Regions from separate parts of the Homo sapiens genome. Here region 2 is linked to region 1. Evidence: promoter capture Hi-C in 16 types of primary human blood cells and fetal thymus (Javierre and others, 2016). All regions are on one chromosome and are shown on one strand. The core of a region is centred on a gene start or on the middle of the fragment in contact, and the rest is flanking DNA. Distances in the headings are between cores, read along the strand shown.

Region 1 (2,733 bases), core at 111-2,610:
ATCTTCTCAGTAATTAGAGGCTCAGGGACAGAAAATGCACCAGCACGGGCATGGTGGCAGGCTCCTGTAATTGCAGCTACTCGGGAGGCTGAGGCAGGAGAATCGCTTGAACTCGGGAGGCGGAGGTTGCACTGAGCTGAGATTGTGCCATTGCACTCCAGGCTGGGCAACAGAGCGAGACTCTGTCTCAAAAAAAAAAAAAAAGAAAAGAGAAGAAAAGAAAATGAACCAGCAGACGGGACCAACTGCTAGCCTTCAAGGCCATTACCTTTACCAAGGAGGGTACCATGCTCGTGGCTGAGGAGCCAACAGGAGGAAGATGAGGTGGACGATGTGCCAGCCACTGTAGGCCCTGTCTCAGGGGGAGCTCTTTGGAAGGAGGAGAGCCTGGTCCTCTTTCTCTGACTGCTCCACTTCCTGTAGCAACTTGTAGAGGGGTCCTGGAGTGCTTGCATAATATGGAGCTTCTTTGGGCCCAGTCAGCTTCAAGCTGGGTCTGAAACAATGATACCAAAAGGAAGAGAAGCCATAGATTCCCAACAGGAATGAGGCATTGATCATCACATGCCAGCAGAAGAAGGTGGTGACAAACATGATGTCACTGATGTCATCGTCCTGCCATGGGTAGCCAGAGACGGGTCTGTATAGAATAAAGCCTGCCTGCATCAGCCAGGAGCCCATCATCAGAATCAGAAAGGTCTCCATCAGCTGGAGATGACACATGTTGGGAGCCCACAGCTCTGCAGTCAACACCAGCAACAGCAGGAACACCACCAAGATGAGCAGAGAATAAACGTGCAGCTCCACCCCTTCTGAATCTTTAACATGTGACACCATCAGCAGCAGGAGCTCGTAGATGATCAGGACCAGGGTACCTTTTTCTAGGCCCACACACCTCTGAGGCAGCACATTCTTGCTCATGAAGTCCACACAGCCATTAAGAGTGAGGAGGATGAACATGGTGAGGTGCTGCCACTCTTTGGGGTACATGAACCTTGATGGCACTTGCTTCCTCATGAGCACCATCCCGCCATCAAGACAGAGAACCACATAAAATGTTAAGAGGGAGCCAGTCACTATCTTTAGTAATCCTCCATAGGCTATTTTCCACAGCCTGGCACATCTTTGCTTATTCCTGGGAGAGCACAAAGGATACAGGAGACAACCTTTGAGTATCATGCCCTTGGAGACCACTGTGGCCTGATATAGTCCATAAGAGAAAAGAAATAGCCCCAGTTAAAAATGGCCAATGGACTTTCCCATGGAATACAGGCCTGTCCGACTGAAGCGTGAAGAGCAATACTCAGGACCTCTCTGCTCTCCTCTCCCTCACAGGCCTCTCGAGTTCTGGGCCTATATATACAGAGCTAAGTTCTACCTACTTTTATCATCTCCTTCTGCCCACTGCTCTCTCACAGACTGGAAAGTTCTGGACAGGAGCCTAGGTTTTTAGTGAGGTGGGTCTCATTGTTCCATTTCATTCCAGTACACTGGGAACTAATTGAGTTCTGCCAAAGTAGAAACATAAATATTTTTTAGTATGCACCTGTGGGAATTTGTGCTCTCAGGAGCTCTGCTTTTGGACCCTTGAGGACCTTCTGGTTACACTTGTCCCTCTCTCTCATGGCTTGCTTCCTTCTGCCCCTGTTCAATGCTCGGAGTAGAAAAAGAGAGGTGCCTGAGCACGGAGATTATCCAGAGAAGACCCGGGTTACTCACAAACCTTAATGCATCCTTTAAGACTCCTTACTCGGACAGGCATGGTGGCTCAAGCCTGTAATCCCAGCACTTTGGGAGGCCAAGGCAGATCTCGAGGTCAGGAGTTCGAGATCAGCCTGGCCAACATGGTGAAATCCCATCTCCACTAAAAATACAAAAACTAGCTGGGCATGGTAAAGAGTGCCTGTAATCCCAGCCACTTGGAAGGCTGAGGCAGGAGAATTACTTGAACCCGGGAGGCGGATGTTGCAGTGGGCCAGGATCATCTCACTACACTCCAGCCTGGGTGACAGAGCGAGACTGTCTCAAAAAAAAAAAAGACTCCTTACTCATATGTTGGGTCATATACTGAGAGCAAATACATTCTTCCTAGACATAAAAGTTTATAAACGTTTGGATGTGTGCTCATATATATAGATACTGAGCTCTTGTCCTCTTCATTCTTCTGTAACAGTTTTTGGGGATCACAAAGAAAGCAGCTCAATTGCCCCAAATTATCTTTCCAAAGAACAGTAGATGAATGTAAAATGTCACCTTTTGAGATCAATTTTGGAATGTTAAGGTATAATTTTTTATTAAAATGCAGATATGTTGAGATAAGTAGATCCAACAAACTGCTTATATTTTAATGTGAATTAGGTCCTCAACTTTATTCTCTCTTTAATTATCATTTACTATGTGTCTAACACATATAGGCAGAAAGAGTTCTAAGCACTAGGTAGCAGCCAGCTGCATATGAGGGGTTGCATCCAAGGCAAGAGTCTTCATTTATTTATTTTTATTTCTATTTTTATTTTTATTTTTAGACAGTGTCTCGCTTTGTTGCCCAGGTTGCAGTGCAGTGGCTTGATGACGGCTCACTGCAGCCTCAACCTCCTGAGCTCAATCAATCCTCCTGCCTCAGCTGCTGAGTAGCTGGGACAACAGACATGAGCCACCACATCCAGCTATTTTTTGTAGAGATGAGGTCTCACTACATTGTCCATGCTGGGTCTCAAACTCCTGGGCTCAAGT
Region 2 (2,733 bases), core at 108-2,607, 140 kb before region 1:
CTTGCATGTTTCTCTTAACCTCATGAGTCTGCAGAAGCAGGCTGGCAAGTGTTCAAGAACAGGCCATCTCATGAGGTTTCCTGTACTTCCTGCCACTGCTGTCGCTGCTGCCAGGGGCACACTCCCCCAGAAAAGCCTTTCTCATGATAGGTTAGCATTTCTGCTACCAGTTGTGGCAGAGGCCAGATGTGAAGGGCATGAAAAGGCAAAATAATGAAAAGGAAATATACCCTCCACTTTCTTGTTTTAGAGCTTTTTTTCCTTTGTTTTTGTGGATTTGTTTTGGAGGAAAGGGAATAGAAGAAAGGGGTGATGGTTTGAAAAATTAACATGTAAGCCCGTGTAAAATTTGCAAAGAGGATTCACAGCGGGTTGGAAGAGGAAGAGGTCGTGTCATTGTGGAATTAGCCAAAGGAATGTGCAGCCCTTTCAGTTGTACACTAAAATGGCAGAAGTTTGCACCAGTCAAAACCAACATCCCAGTTCTTTCCCTGCATTCACCTGGGTCCTCTTTCATGAAGTCTCTGTCCAGTTCATTGAGTGGTATTGTCTTATACTCAAGAGGAAATCACCAGGTTCAGCACAGTAGGGAACATTGACAGACTGTGGTCACCACAGCCAGATGTTCCAAACTGTCCTGAAGGGCTGAGAAGCTTGTCATGTTCAATAATGTATCCCAGTGCCCAGAAAAGTGCTTGGTACCAAACTGACACTCAAGAGATTATAAATATCCCTTGATGATTGAATAAATGAATAGAGGTGATTTTGGCTGACATTAACATTAGATTTAGAGAAAAATAGTTATTTTATAGCAAAACAGATATAAATTACTTTATTACCATAGAATAATCTCTGTCCCCTTTCTTTGTTCACTATCTTTATTAATCCATAAGTGAATCTCCCCTGCCCCATCCCCAGTCATATACCCATATGAAGTGCTGACATTTTATTTTTCTGTACTCACTGATGACAGATTTTTTTTAAAAAAGATGGCAGCTTGCACAAGGAGCAGGGTGGTCGACGTTACCTGACAAGGTCCCTGGCCTGTGTATCTTCTCCTCAAAGCCTCAAATGCTCATGCAGCCCAAGGATAGAGGGAACCAGAGAGCTGTGGTCAGCCTGAAGTGACTTTGCCACATCTGAAATGACCCATGAGCTAAGGGCCTATGGAGACTACAACAGTTGTGAGACTCCCACAGCAGTTCCAGATAACTTTTAAAGTTATCTAATCCAACTGCTCAGCCTCCCAAAGTGCTGGGATGACAGGCGCGAGCCACCACACCTGGCCACATCTGTATTCTTTATGCTATATTAAGGTAGCATCATCCTCAGTCCTGCCATGTTGTTACTACTGGTTTTCCTTGTATTGAGCTTTCCCCTAAATGTGCCCACTGGGCTTCTGTGCTTGAGTTCATGGATAGCCAGGACTTGCCATGTCTGCTGGGCCCAGCAAACCTGCAAAAGCATGCCCTCCCACAGCAACATTGCAGTCACCAAACATTGTCCACCAAGTCTCTGGGAAATCCATAACAATGCATTTACATTCTTTTTTTTTTTTTTTGAAATAGAGTTTTGCTCTTGTTGCTCAGGCTGGAGTGCAATGGTGCGATCTCAGCTCATGGCAACCTCTGCCTCCCGGGTTCAAGTGATTCTCCGGCCTCAGCCTCCCAAGTAGCTGGGATTACAGGCGCATGCCACCACGCCCAGCTAATTTTGTATTTTTGGTAGAGACAGGGTTTCTCCATGTTGGTCAGGCTGGTCTCGAACTCCCAACCTCAGGTGATCTGCCCGCCTCAGCCTCCCAAAGTGCTGGGATTACAAGCGTGAGCCACTGCGCCCGGCCACATTTGCATTCTTATATGGAAATTGACTGCTTATTTTGTTACTTAAACTCTAGTATCACTACTGAACTCTTATGTCTGCCCTCTTGTTGGCCATTTTCTGTGTTCTCTCTTTGCTACTGTTAACAGTCTTCATAGAATCTGATTTTGTCCTTTTACCTTGAGATGTGTTCTCATACTTTAAATTCTAGATTTTGACCAGGGCAGGATATATACAAGACAAGCTTAAAACATCTTGTAGTGCCAGAAAGTAAGAAAGTGCTCAAAAACAAAAACAAACAAAAAAAACCAAATAAACAAAACAAACACACACTGATGGGGCTATGTCAAAGAGACACAGGAGGAAACTGAAAGTGCTCCCAATGTCCAAAACTAGAACAATTTGAGCAAAAAAATAAAGTAGTACTGAAAGTAGAAAACCTGCTTATTCATATAAACTGGCCAGGTGCAGTGGCTCATGCCTGTAGTCCCAACACTTTGGGAGGCTGAGGTGGGTGAAACACTTGAGGCCACGAGTTCAAGACCAGCCTGGCCAACATGGTGAAACCCTGTCTTTATTAAAAATACAAAAATTAGCCAGGTATGGTGGCACACACCTGTAATCTTAGCTACTTGGGAGGCTGAGGCACAAGAATCACTTAAACCCGGGAGGCAGAGGTTGCAGTGAGCTGAGATCGCACCACTGCACTCCAGCCTGGGTGACAGAGTGAGACTCTGTCCCCCCTAAGAAAAAAGAAAGAAAAAGAAAAAGGAAAAAGAAAGTAGAAAATCTGCTTATTCATATAAATGAATATCCTTTCTGTCGCCTTCTTCCTCATCTTTGTTGGATTTACTCTGCCTTTGGCTGGAATTTTATCCTCTCTCATTGTTCATTATACAATGAAATACCAAA

What was found. The method cuts DNA at HindIII sites, captures the fragments that hold promoters and counts their contacts. A CHiCAGO score of 5 or more calls a contact.
Region 2: a fragment that was not itself captured here is called in contact with the fragment with the promoter of TEDDM1 in region 1 in 2 of 17 cell types (megakaryocytes and fetal thymus); the score reaches 7.8 in megakaryocytes.

Annotation. Positions count from the first base shown.
Region 1 is chr1:182,399,307-182,402,039 of GRCh38, forward strand. TEDDM1 (transmembrane epididymal protein 1) reads right to left here and starts at 1,361. Exons shown (of 1, transcript NM_172000.4): 1 at 1-1,361. The coding sequence starts at 1,179. The coding sequence ends at 358. The HindIII fragment of the contact is 8,350 bases long and covers 1-2,733 here.
Region 2 is chr1:182,259,603-182,262,335 of GRCh38, forward strand. The region is part of intron 2 of LINC01344 (long intergenic non-protein coding RNA 1344); the gene reads right to left. Among named protein-coding and RNA genes, the nearest start is that of LINC01344, 53 kb to the right of the region's middle. The HindIII fragment of the contact is 1,412 bases long and covers 652-2,063 here.